3 separate regions of the Homo sapiens genome follow, and regions 1 and 3 are each linked to region 2. Evidence: promoter capture Hi-C in human tissues and cell types (Jung and others, 2019). All regions are on one chromosome and are shown on one strand. Each heading gives the region's core, a stretch centred on a gene start or on the middle of the fragment in contact. The rest is flanking DNA. Distances are from core to core; before and after follow the strand shown. Region 1 overlaps ACTN2 (actinin alpha 2). Region 2 holds the start of ACTN2 (actinin alpha 2). Region 3 has its middle 20 kb from the start of HEATR1.

Evidence for each region. Contacts are between HindIII fragments. The study calls those that stand out against the background at their distance.
Region 1: a fragment that was not itself captured here is called in contact with the fragment with the promoter of ACTN2 in region 2 in 2 of the 25 tissues and cell types used here (bladder and neural progenitor cells).
Region 3: a contact is called between a fragment that was not itself captured here and the fragment with the promoter of ACTN2 in region 2, in 1 of the 25 tissues and cell types used here (adrenal gland).

The regions. Positions count from the first base shown.
Region 1 is chr1:236,748,731-236,751,430 of GRCh38, reverse strand. ACTN2 (actinin alpha 2) reads right to left here. Exons shown (of 21, transcript NM_001103.4): 14 at 2,167-2,307. Among named protein-coding and RNA genes, the nearest start is that of MTR, 45 kb to the left of the region's middle. The HindIII fragment of the contact is 7,634 bases long and covers 1-2,700 here.
Region 2 is chr1:236,685,080-236,687,779 of GRCh38, reverse strand. ACTN2 (actinin alpha 2) reads right to left here and starts at 1,281. Exons shown (of 21, transcript NM_001103.4): 1 at 981-1,281. The coding sequence starts at 1,106. RefSeq lists a silencer at 1,336-1,425. The HindIII fragment of the contact is 16,282 bases long and covers 1-2,700 here.
Region 3 is chr1:236,623,474-236,626,173 of GRCh38, reverse strand. No RefSeq gene overlaps it. Among named protein-coding and RNA genes, the nearest start is that of HEATR1, 20 kb to the right of the region's middle. The HindIII fragment of the contact is 4,072 bases long and covers 1-2,700 here.

The DNA of each region.
Region 1 (2,700 bases), core at 56-2,555, 64 kb before region 2:
GAGTGTTAATTTCAAAGGCTTTGATATTCCTTTCCGCACACAAGTAAATGCCTTGATGATTGCAAGAGTCTCTGGAGAAAAACACATTCTGAATGCTTTAGAAAAAACTCTTTAGGTACACAGAAGTCAAGTTCCTGGAAAATGGAAAAAGGATGTCATGATGACTATTAATAATATTGGTGGCTATTCATGTAGAGTCTTTTAAAAAATAATTTTTTTTAATCAGTTTTCCTTTCACTGATTTTGATCACCAGCTATTGTTTAGGTCTTTCTTATTTTCTGCTGACGAGCAGAACTTAACTTAGCGGCACTTCCTTTTTTTTTTTTTTTTTTTTTTTTTTGAGACAGGGTCTCGCTAGGTCACTCAGGCTGGAGTGCAGTGGTGCAATCATGGCTCACTGCAGCCTTGAACACTTGGGCTCAAGTAATCCTCCTGCCTCAGTCTCCTGAGTAGCTGGGACTATAGGGCATACATCATGATGCCTGGCTAATTTTTTTATCTTTTGCAGAGACAGGGTCTCATTATGTTGCCCAGGTTGGTCTCAAACTCCTGGCCTCAAGTGATCCTCCCCGCCTGGCCTCCCAAAGTGTTGGGATTACAGGTATGAGCCACCATGCTCAGCCCTTAGATGCCCTTTCTAATGGCCAGTGTTACCTTTGCAGTCCTACAAAAGCATCTAACATTTGCTACCATTATATCTAAAGAAAACCAGGAAGTACATCCCTATTCCTCAAAAAGAAAAGGTCACAGAAACCAACTCTTCCCAGAAGGCTCTCTAAAGAGCCATTTATCAAACCTATTCTTTGACCTGAACATGAGCAGCCCCACAAATTCAGCGGCTCAAAGACCTCACTGCCTCGTGGAGCACCTTTGAGTGTGAAGCTACTGTTCTCTTTAGGTGCAGCAACAGGTCAGCTGCCAACAGAGCTTTGACAAAGAGTGTGACTTCCAAGGCGTGCTTAGAGGTCTCACTTATTCCAAAAATAAACGATTTTAGACTGTTGGCCTGTGCTTAAGAGTGCACGCAGGAAACACCATCGGAGCCTCTTTCAAAAGGCAACTCCAATGTTCATGGAAGCACTTTCTTTCCCCTGGCGTGCAGGTGCAAACCCTTCTAGACGGCTCCTGGTAGGGAGGTGTGGTTTCAAATCCCAACCTTCAGGATTTCCTTTCTACTTGGATTCTTTTTGATGACATATCTATTTTACAGAAAAAAAAGAGTAAAAAGTATTTTCTCTTTTTATTCTATTATACATCAAATTCACTGTACAAATTCTCTAAATAAATTATGTCCTGGCTAACCGAGATTAACTTTCCTCCCTAACGTCACCACTTAGAAGCTTTGTTTATAGTTCTGAAGTTCCAGAAAAAACTATAAGCAGAACATTTTAGATTGGCAGTAGGCAAAAGGTAGGTGCTGATTTGTGGCTTCTTATGGTTTACAATCTGGCAAAAAACTCTGTAGATCTAAATAAACAGTAATATGCACACGTTTGCAAAGTAGTTAACTCAGCAGCTAGTACACTTACAACTTTTTCATGAATAACTCCAAGAGCACATATGTTTATTTTGCTCAATGATGCAGCAGTTGTTGTAGTTGTAGTTGTCGTTGTTGTTGTTGTTGTTGTTGAGACAGGGTCTCACTCTGTTACCCAGGATGGAGTCCAATGGCGTGATCTTGGCTCACTGCAACCTCTGCCTCCCAGGCTCAAGCGATCCTCCCACCTCAGCCTTCCCAGTAGCTGGGACTCCAGGCGTGCACCACCACACCCAGCTAATTTTTTTTTGTATTTTTTGTAGAGACGGGGTTTTGCCACATTGGCCAGGCTGGTCTCGAACACCTGAGCTCAAGCAATCCACCCGCCTCAGCCTCCCCAAGTGCTGGAATTATAAGCATGAACCACTGCGCCCAGCCTCAGCATTCTTTTTTAAAGAACAGAGCTTCTGAGACACATTCACCATTACTTGATTGATTTTAACGGGTTTGCAACACAGAGTACTAAACACATTTTTAAGCTAAGGTTCAAGGGTAATTTGGGCTTTCTAGCCACATTTGTTAATTTTTTTTTAAAGCAAGAAAACAAGAAACCAAATAACAGGACTCTTAAGTTTAAATGACAACTCACTTCTAATGCATAGGGCATACAGAGTTGCGGTTCCATTACCTGGATCTCCTCAATGCTGTGGACAATGAACATATCTTGCAGATCCTCCATAGCGCCCTCCATCCAATTGTTGAAAGGAGCAGCCCTCTTGGCAAACTCCAGGTGAAGCTGATCAATGGTTTCTAGCAATTTCTCCATTCTCTAAAGAATAAAGAGAAGCAAGCATTATCATAGACTAATTAAAAAATTCACTGAAAGTGTAAGTAGGCGTTCCATAAGAACAGACTATTCTCTGATATTCTGTTAATCGTATTAGCATGTGTCTACAAAAGATTACCCGATGCTCAAACAATTAGGCTGAGCCCTGCAGGTCTCTGAGGTGCCTTCTGAATCAAAGAAGGATTTCATAACATCCAGAGCAGCCTCATTTTTAAAGTGTCTAAAGTACTTCACTACATGCTACTTTTCTGAAAACTGAGACTCCACATACGGCATACTGTAACTTGCTTTCAGCTAAAGCAGGACTTTATAAGAGGACCTGATTCCCTAACTGTGCCAGATTAACAGAAAATGCAGGGCATCTTCCACGTTTTA
Region 2 (2,700 bases), core at 32-2,531:
TATTCACCAAATACTATCGCACAATCAGCTACAGTACCCATTATACAGAGATTCCCATACACACTATGGTCACCACAGGCTATCCACCTAAAGCAGGTCCTTAGAAGGGAAATCTATCTTGCCCCACGCCCAGAAAAATAGGCGGAAAAAAGTTCAGAGCGTTTGGCTTTTGCCATAACCCCGTTATCTTAAGGTTGGGTTGGCAGGTCTCTGTTGTCATGTCTGACCCAACCAGGCTCCCTGCCTAGTCAAGTAAGAGGCGGGATTAAGCCTCCTGGTGAGCATTCCCTATTTATTCCAGCCAAGAGGATCAAGAGGAAACCTTGAAAAAGTGGAATGTTCCACTGGGCCCCCAGAGAACGCCAATCAAAATGGGGAGGGAGCTTTTAGAAGCTGGCTGACTCCTTCGTCCCTGTGTGCTTACCTCAATGAATTATAAATAGAGTGTGAAATAATTGTCACTATCGGTAAATGTCTAGTGTTCATACAACATCCCTCTCCAAGGAACCCAAAAGATTGAATAAATGACTTTCCATGACTCTAGGGGCAGCCCGGTGGAAATTGCAATGAAGCTGATGTTCTTTTGCTTCTTTCAATGGGGAAGAGAGAGGCTGGGGTAAATGGACACAAGCGGGCCAGGAGAGTATAACTCGGGGGCCAAGGTCACAGACTCAAGGGGTCAGGAGCAGACCAGAGACCCCTTCAGATCTGGTCTAACGCGGGTTGGTGTGAGGAACAGAACCACATCTGTACCTCCGATGCTGCTAGCGCGCGCGCACACACACGACGCCCAGTGTCCTGCCTGTCCCCGGACGTGTCCTCTTTCCTAAGGGGCCCCCGGGGCTGCGAGGGCACAGGACAGCACAGCACCTCCACAAAGCGCCCTCTCGCCAGTCGCCAGGCCACGCGGCCACGCGCACGGGAGCCCCGCGGGGGACCCGGCCCCACCACGCGCGGGCGGCCCGCGGGCCCCTGCTGACCTTCCTCTGCTGCTTCTCCCAGGCTGGGTCCAGGAGCAGGTCGCGGTCCCACTCCTCCTCCTGGATCATGTACTCATCCTCGTCGTACACGTAGTTGTACTGCACGCCGGGCTCTATCTGGTTCATGGCGCTCGGTTGGCCGGGGCTGCGGCGGGGCGCGAGGGGCTCGGACGCACGGGCTGACTGGCAAACGGACCCACGGAGGCGGCGGGCGGCGGGCGGCGGGCGCGGGGTGACCTTCGCGCGGCTCCTCTCGGGGCGACACGCCTGGGCGCTGGGTCTCGGGCGAAGCACCAGCTCCGGCTGCGAGCAGCTGCCGCGCGGCTTAATAGCCGCGCCGCCCGTCACGTGGCCGCCCGGCCACGCCCCCGCCGCCACCGCCCCCGGCCCCGCCCGTCGGGCCCCAGCCGCCCCGCCCCGAGCACGTGCGGGCGGACAAGGGCGCCGGGCCCCTCCACTGTCTCCCCTGCAGCCGCCGCCCAGAGGCCGCCTGCACGCCTTCCGCCGAGGCCTCCGGGAACGTGAGGGGAGCGGCCGGCCCCGAGCAGAGCCACGCCTGCCACCCACGCTCTGAGAGCGGCTGGTTAGCGGCGCGGGGTCCGTCGGTGTCCCGGGTGGGTGATCGCGAGCCAGGGGAGGGACACCTAAGAGGCTGGGTCCCTGACCACCCCAACACAGCCAAGTTTTCCAAATATCATTTGGATATTCGCGTTTTCCATATATTCCCACATATTCATTGGAGACCCCTCTTCTCTCTCTCTCATCTCTCTCTCGTGCCTCTCTTTCCGCTCATCGGTCCCTCTCTCTTGTGTCTGTCTCTCGTCTGTCTCTCTCTCATCTCTGTCCCTCTTTCTCCAGTGTCTCTCTCTCATAGATCTCTCTCATATCTCTCTCTCATCTCTGTCTCTCCTGTGTCTCTCTCACATGTCTCTCTCTCCTCTCATCTCTCTCTCTCTCTCGTGTCTCACTGTCTCTCATCTGTCTCTCGTGTCTCTCTCCTCTCCTCTTCTCTCCTCTGTCTCTCTCTCCCGTGTCTCTCTCTCTCTCGTCTCTCTCTCTCTGTCGTGTCTCTCTTTCTCTCTCTCATCTGTCTCTCTCTCCTGTGTCTCTCATACCTCTCTCATCTCTGTCTCTCTCTTCTCTCTCTCTGTTTCTCTTCCTCCCTCTCACACACACACACACATACATACATACAGGCCCCTAAGGAGTAAAGTTTAAAAGCTACAGAACCCCCCTCTTCTTTCTCTCCTCCTCACCCTCACCTGGGGAAATCAAGGCACAGGATTTGGATCCATCCTATTAAAATGTTAGGAACCAAACCAAAGGCAGGAAGTGTCAGCTCTCACCTACCGGGCATAAATTTAAGAGAGCTGACAATGAAGGGCAAGCGGCCAGCTTCGTGTTATATTTCCATGTCGCCCTGTGGGTTGCACTTAACGCCTTTTCATCCCCCTAGTGCTGGCTAGCTGTTCCCTATCAGTTATGCTGCCGCAGGAAGCAAAATGAGGACCCTTGGGACAAGTAGGCTGAAATTTTTAAATCAAATATGTATTAAGCAACTACTGTAAACCAGAGGTTGCCTTAGGCACCAGACGAGCTGATGGGATGCCTGCCTGCAATTCAGTTTATATCTCAATTGAATAAACGTTGCCCACAGATGCTACAGAATTTTTTGTGATTCAGGGCTACTAATTTGTGGACATGTTTCAAGTTGAGTTTG
Region 3 (2,700 bases), core at 25-2,524, 62 kb after region 2:
ATTAATAAATGAGAAAAAAATCTGAGATCACAATAAAAGATCTTTACTGGTGCAAGGGTCACTTCTCACCGCTGTTTGACTGCTTTGGGTCATTCTTTAGTACCTTAAGTTTTTTATATTTTGTGAAGATTTTACTATTTTTTATCTGCAAGAGAGTAAGTTCAATCAAGCTATTGCACCATTACTAAAAGTGAGGCTTCTTTGACTATTTTTTTTAAGAGTTGGGGTTTGCTCACTCACCCAGGCTGGAGTACAGTAGTGTGATTATAGCTTACTGCAGCTTCGAACTCTTGAGCTCCAGGGATCCTCCTGCCTTAGCCTCCTGAGTAGCTAGAACCACAGGCACACTCCACCACGTCTGGCTAATTTTTAAAAATTTTTGCAGAGACTGGGTCTTTCTATGTTGTCCAGGCTGGTCTTGAACTCCTGGCCTCTAGTGATCCTCCCACCTCAGCCCCCAAGTAGCTGATTACAGGCAAAAGCCACCATGCCTAGCTCACTTTTACTATTTTTTACAATTCAAGATGTTGTCTATCTTTTTCAGCTACTCTATCCTGATTAATAAATGTTCTGTTAGTTTTGACTTATATTCTTCTTTTTGACTGGTCGTTCTCCTTAAATAAGATGTATTTTTCTTTGTTGGCTCCCTGAAGGCTCTGGTCTTATATTGAATTACCCAAGTTGGCAGTACTTTTCATGTAATGAAAGCTAAAGCTGTCTCTACTCCTGTGGTTGGCAGTGTAGAAGCAGGCAAGTTAACAATTCCAGTAAGGATCATGGACAAAGTCTTCTGTTCTGTTTCTTCTTACTTTCCTTGTCACAGGATCAGTAAACACTCGAGGCATTGTTAAACTTTATATTAGTTTTTTCTTTTGCTGTGTAACAATATTATCACAAACTTGCTGGCTTAAAACAACATAAACTTATTATTTCACAGTTTCTGAGGTTCAGGATTCCAGACACAACTAGACTGAGTCCTCTGTCTTAGGGCCTCACAAAATTGTGATCAAGATGTCATCTGGGCTGCAGGCTTTTCTGAGACTCGACTGGGGAAGGATCTGCTTCCGAGCTCATGTGGTTGTTAGTAGCATTTGTTTCTTTGTGGACCATTGGACTAAAGGCCTCTGTTTCTTGCTGGGTATTAGCTGAAGGAGTTCCTTAGGTCCTTGCCATATTAATCTTTCCAGAATCATTTGTTTTCTCAAAGCCAGCAAAGTAGAGTCTCCTGGAAAGATTGATGTTACAATCATATGTAATGTAATCACTTACATGTAATCACACATATTCTGTCATGCAGGCTGTATTCTGTGGATTGAATCAAGTCGCAGGTCCCACCTACACTCAAGGGAAGGGATTAAATCCAGGAGGCAGGGATTACGGAGGTCATTTTTAGAATCAATATGCCACAGTCTGCCCTGATTCCCAGTGATTCATGCCTCTCCCACATGAAAATATATTCACCCCTCTTAAGGTTCCTAAGAGTCTCATCCCACTGCAATGTGTGCTTGAATTCAGAATTTCAAAATCTAAATAAGATCCAGGTGCAGGTGAGGCTCTTTAGATCTGGTTCCTCTCCATCTGTGAGTCTATAAAACTAGAAGTTGGGGGAAAAAGAAATCAAGATCCACAAAAGTATGCCAGTTCATAAATACAGAATTAGCTAAATTCACTATCAAGCAAAAGCGCATGCATCCACAAAAAACATCCAAAATGCATGCATGCAGGTAGTCATGAGTGGCTATAAATTTCTAGGGAATTTTCAGCTCTACCTATCTAGAATTAAATCTACAATTGTTATACCTCATCTCTACCTTTGTAAATACTCATCAGTTATTCAACAAGCATCAGTAGTTACATTAAGCTTACTCTAATGTCCTATTTCCTTTTTCGGAGACAGGGTCTCACTCTGCCACCCAGGCTGGAGTGCAGTGGCATGATCATGGCTCACTGCAGCCTCAACCTCCTGGGTTCAAGCAATCCTCCCACCTCAGCCTCCCTAGTAAGCTGGGACTACAGGCACACATCACCAAGCCCAGCTAATTTTTGTTTTTTAGTTTTTATTTTGGTAGAGATGGGGTTTTGCTATGTTGCCCAGGCTGGTCTCAACTCCTGGGTTCAAGTGATCTGCCCACTTCAGCCTTTCAAAATGCCGGGTTTACAGGTATGAGTCACCATTGCCTGGCTTGATGTCCTGTTTTCATAATTCTCTATCAGTACTGCTTAGGGTTATCTTGAGCACTGTGTCTACTTAACAGTACATATGGTTAGTCATATCCATCAACATTCCTCAGAAGATTAGATTAAGTTCTGTTTCCCATGAGAGGCAAGTTATCTGGTCCCCACTCCCCACACCCAACATAGAATGGTGGTATAGATCTATTATAACAGCTATAAACATTCCCATTCAAAAGGAGCCAAAATAAAAGATATAAATAAGTGACTTGTGAGTAGAAATTCTGAAATCCAATCAAGCAAATATTGGGAGTTTCTTTTTTAGATTTCAAGGCTTGAGAATAATTCTTTGTAGCACTTGGCTCCACCCATCGGATTCTTGGTTCTACCCTCTGAGTCATCCTTTTTTCATGAAAGGTAACGTGTGTTTGCAACTGAATAGTTTTATTGGTCTGCTTCCTGCCAGTAGGATTTGGAAGGACTGACATCCTCCTCTCATTTCGTACTCTTTGTCCCTTCAAAGCTGGC